2 separate regions of the Homo sapiens genome follow, and region 2 is linked to region 1. Evidence: promoter capture Hi-C in human tissues and cell types (Jung and others, 2019). All regions are on one chromosome and are shown on one strand. Each heading gives the region's core, a stretch centred on a gene start or on the middle of the fragment in contact. The rest is flanking DNA. Distances are from core to core; before and after follow the strand shown.

The links. Contacts are between HindIII fragments. The study calls those that stand out against the background at their distance.
Region 2: a contact is called between a fragment that was not itself captured here and the fragment with the promoter of CACNB4 in region 1, in 2 of the 25 tissues and cell types used here (adrenal gland and aorta).

Annotation. Positions count from the first base shown.
Region 1 is chr2:152,097,118-152,101,166 of GRCh38, forward strand. It overlaps CACNB4 (calcium voltage-gated channel auxiliary subunit beta 4), which reads right to left and starts at 1,927. Exons shown (of 14, transcript NM_000726.5): 1 at 1,832-1,927; 2 at 1,213-1,296. The coding sequence starts at 1,894. RefSeq lists a silencer at 1,836-2,125. The HindIII fragment of the contact is 13,270 bases long and covers 1-4,049 here.
Region 2 is chr2:152,581,237-152,585,002 of GRCh38, forward strand. The region is part of intron 9 of FMNL2 (formin like 2); the gene reads left to right. Among named protein-coding and RNA genes, the nearest start is that of PRPF40A, 130 kb to the right of the region's middle. The HindIII fragment of the contact is 3,076 bases long and covers 686-3,761 here.

The DNA of each region.
Region 1 (4,049 bases), core at 677-3,176:
CTTAGTGCTCGCTGAATTAAATGGTAGTCAAAATTTCCGCTTCTGCAGAAAGTGAAATTCTGCATAATAAATATCATCTAAATATGCTTTATAGACCCTTTTAGGAGAGGTCTGAGTTCAATTTTGATATCAATTCCTCGTTGATATGTTTAAATTGATGATAATCACTAAAGAAACACCAGAGCTGCCATCATAGGTTAGAAAACACATTACACAATACTGAGTGACCTAGAGGGAAAAGAACTTCTCAAGGTCACTCCAGCAGCCCACAGGAAGACCTGGGATAAAAGCCTCTTGGTGCGATGACCAATGTCTTCCTAGGTCACCCGAAACCTAGGACACACCCCGACAATTTCTGTTCCAAAGAAAGATCAAGGTGACTCATTGCATGATCTCTCTAGCACCCAGCAGCCAGGGGTGGTTTCATTAACAGCACATGGACAGTTGGAAAACTGAGGACCAATTTCCTGTGCCAAGGTGAAAGGCACCTAAGCATTGAGCATTACCAGCGATCCGGAGATCCCGAGCACAGACAATTCGCACTAGAACCACGCAGGAGAAAGCAAGCACTAAGAAAACAAACACGAAGTGAAGGCGCACCCAGACCCGGAGCTGAGTGCTGGCCTTCGTTAATTCCTATTTAACCAGATACAGCTGTCTTTCCCTAACTAAGCGAATCCAAGAAGCGGTCCTAAAGTGAGAGTAAACTTTCTGCTCAGTGTCTTTCTTTTGACCGGAGCTTGACGATCTCTCCCAAGATCCAGACAGATAAGAGTATTCAAATTAGGACAAAACAGAAGAAACCACTAAATCTCAACTCGAATCAAACCAGGTCCCCGGCCCCGAGGGGTCTGGTTACTCTAGGTCGAGTTATACGAATTAAAGACATTTCTCCACGCACCAAAGATACAACCAGACATATTTCCAGCTCTTAAATTCAACGTCCCTGACTTAAGCCAGGTCCCCACCGAACTGTCCACACACATGCACAAACTAACTTCCCGGGGCGGTGCGGAGACGCCGGGACGCGAAGACGTCAAGAGCCCAGGCTAGAGGGAGAGGGACTGAGCCCGAGCACCGGCCGAGGCCGGGAAGAGACGCGCGCGGGCTTGACCCGCAGCTCCCGCACGTGTGGGCCACGGCCGGCTCCAGGACCCCCGCGCCGCGCGCTCGGCCTCCTCCCCATCCTGGTCTCCCGCCTCCTTCTCATACCTGTCTGAGGATGAAGCTGGTCGAAGTGGTGCTGCCATCGGATCTTTTCAACCTGCTCCTCCGGGTTGTGGTGCCTCGGGCCACCTGGACTCGACACACGGGGGCCAGAGAGAAGCCGGTGAGGACCGCAGCGCAGAGCGGGGCGACCACCCCCGGCTGGAGTCCGCCTCCGGACCCGCTCCCTGGGGTCCCCTAGAGCCCGCACCCAAGTCTCCTCCGCGACTCCCAAATACAGCCCCCACCCCCACCCACCCACTGCAAGCCTCGACTGCTGAAAAGATGCTCGAGAAGAGCAGCCCGCAAGCACCCACCACATCCATTAACAAAGACTCTCAGGGTGCGGGGTCCGAGTCCCCGGCATCCGCTGGGGGAGGCTGCGGGCTCCGGAGCGGGAGCGCAGAGACCCGAAGGAGGGTGAGGAGGAGGAGGAAGAGAAGGAGGAGAAAGAGGAGGAGCGGGAGGAGAAAGGGACGTGGAGGAGGGGTGGGGGGAGCGGGGCCGCCGACTCCCGGGACTGGGGCCCCGCACGCCCGGCACGAAGGCGGGGCGCGCTAGGGCGGCGGAGGAGGTGTGAGGAAGGAAGAGGAGGAAGAGGAGAAGGGGGAGGAGGGGGCGGTACCTGCGAGGTGGGGGAGTGCGGCCCGTCCGCGGTCCCGTTCTTGGCGTAGGAGGAGGAGGACATCGTTCAGAGCCGCCGCATGGCCAGCCCGTGTGCGGTGGGCGGAGGGGGCTGGCCCCCGAGGCTGGGCTGCGGACGGAGGGGGAGGGCGCAGGACTTCCCCACCCGGCTCCAGGACCCGCGCCGGCGCCCAGGCTCCCTGCCCGCACTTCGGAGAGCGCGGCACCTTAAAGGGACCGAGGCGCTTCCCCCGCGCTCGCGGCGGGGTCCCGGGGAGGGGGCTTCTCGGAAACTCGCCTACCCGAGCGGATTGGGAGAAGCGCTCTCCCACCTAGCAAGCGCTTTACATCAGAGCTTCCAGAGGATGAAGGGAGGGGGAAATCTGGGATGGGGGTGGCAAGATTAAAATAGTCTGCACAGTTTAAAATGAGACAAAGGTGGCACGGTTCATGAATCAGGACTTGGGGACGGAAGCTGGTGCAGTGTGGCGGGAATGGGAAGAACCGAGCGGGTGTGTGTGTGTGTGTTTGCTGCACTGGAATTTTAAAAGGGCAAGAGCAGAGCCACCTTCCGCGACTTCACTCATCAGCCTAATGTGTAAGGCATGGGGTTTTGTGGCTTGCTTTTCGTCCGTGTTTTTGTATTGCTTTGGCAATTCTGTCCTTAGAGCTGCGAGTCACACACATCCAGGCAGCTGTGAGAAACCCAGCCAGCCTGAGTCTGACGGGAGATGCTGCCCCGCCAAAGACCAGTATGTCCTACGGAGTTTTGAAGGTCATGTTAGACCTGCTAAGAAGCAAGAGTTGGTCACTGTGCCTCCCATTTCTATGCGAATGGATATTTTCAAGGGGGAGAAACTCATCCTTGCAACCATACACAACGTTTGCCATTGGTTTCCTCCTGTAAATACATACAAGAGATTAATTTGTGATCAAATTAAAAGAGAGGGATTGCGGAAAGGAAGAATAAGTGCGAGGTATTGACAGAGGAATAAGAAGAGGGAAGAAAAGTATATGCAAATTCAAAAATAAAGAGACTCCGTTTAAATTAAAATATACTTACTATCTCAAATCGCTAAATCAGCTTGCATTCTAGGACTTTATGTTTATGGACACAACTACCATGCTTGTTTTAATAATTGCTTGGCTTTATTGAGGTCCTGGTTATATCTTACCATCCACCAGACACTTCCTTTCCATTCCTAATCCCTTCACTTAATCCAAACCTCTGTAACAATCTTATAACTAATGTCCTTGCCTCCAGGCTTCCTGGTGCATGTGCACGTATGCACATGCACACATACACACGCAGAGATTTCATTCCATCTACACACTACAGGCAAAACCATTTTCCTAAAATATCTTGCCCAAGTCACTCTTCTCTAAGATAAAGTCCAAACTCCATGGTCCAACAACTCAGCCTCTCCTGCATTTCTGATCACTCTCCATCTCATTTCTCCATCTTGATCTCTCTATACAAACCTTCCAGCAAGCAGGCAGGTCTAGTCATCAATACCCAAGTATTCCAAATACAATCACATTTGAGCTCTTCTGCTTTGGAATGCCTCCTTGGAATATGCCCTCCCAACAACCTACACACCCGGCTGAATCCTACCTTTCTTCTAAATGGGACTCAGCTCACGCTTCCTCCACAGAAATCCTATCTGACTACTCCAGTCCCACATAATTCTTGTGCTTCTGAAAAACTGGAGCATGTATTCTCTGGGCACTTAGAATAGGCTGCCTTAGCTTATTAGTTTGTTAGTTCTGTTTTTGTGAAAATCTCCTAATTTTCAGAATTTTTAGCGGTTTATCTTCTATTCCTATACCTTCCATATAGTAGATACTCCATGAATTTATGGGGAATGGAGGTCTAACCATGCAGGACTCCCTACTTTAGTTACTGTCAACCCAATCCGTATTTAGTTCTGAGCCATTTTCATAGTTGATACGTGTGTGCATATTAAATTACTATGTGAGCACTGGACTTTGAATTGTGTGGTTTTCCACTGTCCACATTCTCACTGACTTTAAGTTATTGAAACAGAACCCACAGAGGCATAACAACATGAGAAGCCCTGTACACCCAGCTCAAAGCAAAACTGGTGAAAATTATATGTTTTATATATAAGCAACCATTTAAATTTCTAAAAATGGTCCTAAAGGTGCACAACAAATGAAGGAACATTTATTCAAGAAAACCTACTGAAACCCAGTAA
Region 2 (3,766 bases), core at 974-3,473, 480 kb after region 1:
AAATAATCACAGTACTCTTTTTTTGTTGTTGTTGTTTTTGTTTTAATTTTTATGTTTTTAGGGAACATGGAATAATCCAGTTTGAAAACCGGTTTTGTTACATGTATGTGGTTTTCATTGGGGTTGATATTGGCACTTGATCGTCCACCATGCAAATTTTATGAACTCTTTCATCACAGTTACTTTATTTTTGCTGGATGCTATGAAAAACCTGGCAAATACTGGCACTGATTCTGGGAGCGTGTAAGCTTAAGTGGGCTTGTCACAGCCAAACAATAATGCAACAGTTGAGCATGGTTGGAAACGGAGACTGTCTGACCACAAAGAAAGGAGGGATTACACAAAGACAATATGACGCCGCGGGCCCTGCCCCAGCGTATCCAAACATCACCGCCGCGGGCCCTGCCCCAGTGTATCCAAACATCACCGCCTAGATAGTAGCTGCTTTCCCACAGGGTAGTGGGCAGTGTTGTAGGACCAAGAAGAGTACCTGTTTGTTCCCCTGGTATATGCCTGACATCAGAGGCTACTTTGAGGTGAGAAATTACAAAGTAGTCCTTAGAGAACAGGTGGAAGCCCAGGTTACAATAGGACCCTTCGCCAAGTTGTGTGTTATGCTAGAAGTCCCATTTAATTCCAAATGCTTTTGGATTAAGACCCGAGCTGGATTAAAATCCAGGTCACAGAGGGACTGTTTTCTCTCCTCTTTCCTGAAAGGTTCTGAACTAGAAACTCTGATAGTATTTATTGAGAACCTACTATATGCCGGGGCTATACCAGCTACATGCATGGCATCATTTGGTTCTATAAGAACATCTTTGAGACAAATATTAATATCTTGATTTTAGCGAAATTGAAATACATAGTTTACCTGTGGTCACATAGCTAGATAAGTGACAGAGCCAGGAACAGGACTTGGTGCTCCTGATCCTGAACTTCCTTGAAATGTGTTGAAGTTGTGGCCTTATTGTTTGTGAATCCCTTGAAGGAAATAAGGGAAATACTGAAATGAGACAGGACTTCGGAGCTATTTCCCCTGCCTCCTACCTCCTTAATTGGATTTACTGCCCAGCTGCCAAATGTTCTAGACACCAGCCTGTGAGCCTCTGCATAGGCTGGGAAGCTTCAAAGATGTGAACAGGGCAGACACTCCTCTTGCTCCTTTATTTGCATTGCCTCCTTACTGCTAGTCCATTCTTTAAGATTTTGATATTATCCATTTTGTAAATGCCAACTGTGGAGACAACCAAATATTATCTTTTTTTTTCTTTCTATTGAGCCCCAAAGATAGTGAAAAAATATCCAGCTTCCAAGAGAATGAAGAAGAATAATAGTGAATCTTTAAATTCATATTCTGGCTTCCAAGACAAATAGATTTTAGAGACAAGAATGTACGAATGCTTGTCTGTGAATGTTTTTATATATCATGTATAAATATATAAATTTTACATTTATAAATAAGGAAGTATGTTTGGGTGGATGGGTTTAATATGAAAGAGAAACAGTATGTGCAGCTCATATAACGCCCAAATCTTTATCATTAGGTCATATTTGAAAATATTGCATGCTGAGTACTTTTCACATTGGAAACATTTACTATATAGTTATCAGTGGCCCTTGTTATAATGACTCATATTATAACAGGAATCTGATTATACTGCAGGTCAGATTATATCCTAAAGATATATTTGTATAGAACAAGAATAAAAGCCAGGAATTCATGAGATGAATGATAATATTTTTTTCTCCTAGGTAAGATAGAGTACCTTTCTTATGCATAGTAGGCCCACAGATACTTGCAGAATTGAGTTTTAACTCTTTGGTGTCAGACTTATATATGCTTTAGCTATTTAGGGTGTAGTATGTGCTTAATTGAAGAAAAATGTAATCCTAAGTCTAATACCTGGACAATAGTAATGAGAACTAAATTACTTTTGACATTGAATTCTTAGAGCTTTAACCAAAACTGGCCTCATTTCTGTAATTAATCAGGAGTGATGGTAGGTCTTCAGGTACTGTCCTTGGCATAGGCATTTGCATCTGATAGAAGGTGATAGCAGTGGGCTAGGGGAGGTCCTCAAATGCTGGTGGGACCCCAAACCCTGCTGGTGTCTAGGCGCTTGACATCCTCACAAGAATGAATTCAAGTATGAGTTAGAAAATAGTGAAAGTGTGGAGATTTATTGCAAAGCAAAAAGTACACACTCAAGAAAGGGGAGTGTGGGCATGCTTGAGAGAGTCACACAAGGTGGTTTGGGGCTGCTACCTTTATGGATTTCTTTAACCAAGGGATGGAGTATTCACGGAGATTCCTGGAAGAAGCTGGAGATTTCTCAGAACTATGGTGCTACCCATTTTTACCTCAAATAACGATGTTCTGGAACTGTCATGGCACTGGTGGGTATATGATTGAATATGTGAATGAGCATAGAATAAGGTCCTAGGAGAAACCTGGATCAAATCCAGCACCATGTTGGACCCAGTTTGTCTTTGCCAGCTTGGCCCACACCCTGTTTTTCAGGGTCTTATCAGCCCCAAGCTTCTGCAGCTATTTCAGCAGTTTCCTTTTGCTTAGTCATGTGAAACTGCTGCCTAGAATTTTTTATTCTGCTGCAACCATCCTGCATTATTCTTGTCTAAAAACCATATAGACAGACCAAGCAAATGGATTATTATCCTAATAGCCATGGGAATGAAGACAAGGTAGCAACATGCCCCCGACAAACTTAGTTGTTATAGATAGGTCAGAAGAGCCTCAACCGATTTATCCAATCTTGAGGTGCAAAAGGTGTTATTCTGTGTTGATCTTGCTTTCTAAAACATGCAATGCCGCTCACAGCTCAAAGTCTCTTAAATCCCTTCCTCTTTTTCTCCCATCTTTGCGTGAGTGAATTTTTTTTTTTTCACATCATAGTAAAGTGAATTCTTTAACCTCTTTAACCAAAATGTCATTGGAATCTTCTGGTTTTATAATAATATTCATTATTATATTCTGGCATGCCTGTGCAGATAGGGTTTTGTTCAGTGAATAATTCCTTTTGAGCCACATATGGCAGAGAGAGTACCATACCAGGTACCAGGATACCAGGAAGGAGGACCAAAGAAGAGTCTTTGCCTTCGAGAAGATTGTTTTTAAAGCTTTTCATCTTTTTTAGTAAGTTGGGATTCCATTCATCTGCCTAAGAAGGATGAAAGGATTATCTTTGTTTTTATTGGCAGGAATGAGGGGTGAAGTAGGGGAGTTCAACATCTATTTTTTGCAAATAAAGTAATATGCTTTAGAGTAGCCAGATCCTTTGGGCTTTGATCACTGTTAGAGCATAGCCAAGCGTACTAACGCAATATGGAACCAGATGCTAGAAAGACATTTAAAAGGCCATGTATCTTAAGTAGTTTATGTAGCAGGATTTTTCCCCCTCTACCTCTTGAGCCAATAAATCCATTCTATCTAATTTGACCACCACTAATTAATTAGTTCAGATGTAAATTAAAGGAAGTTATTATTTGGCTGTTGAAAGATTTTTATGTATGACTACATCATTTTCTCATGTTTTGATGAATATTTAGAATCCCAATCTTATATTTTTTTTCCTTAAAAAATCTTGCTACAAATCTTGTAATAGCTGAAGTGCATGTTTTAGGAAGGCAGGGAGCACCTTTAGTTTAATGGTATGTGATGGTGGCAAGAATGTTAACCCAAAGCTTTGCTTATGGTGGGGGTGGGATTGGGGTCTAAGCCTGATGTCACTGAGCAAACACATACATG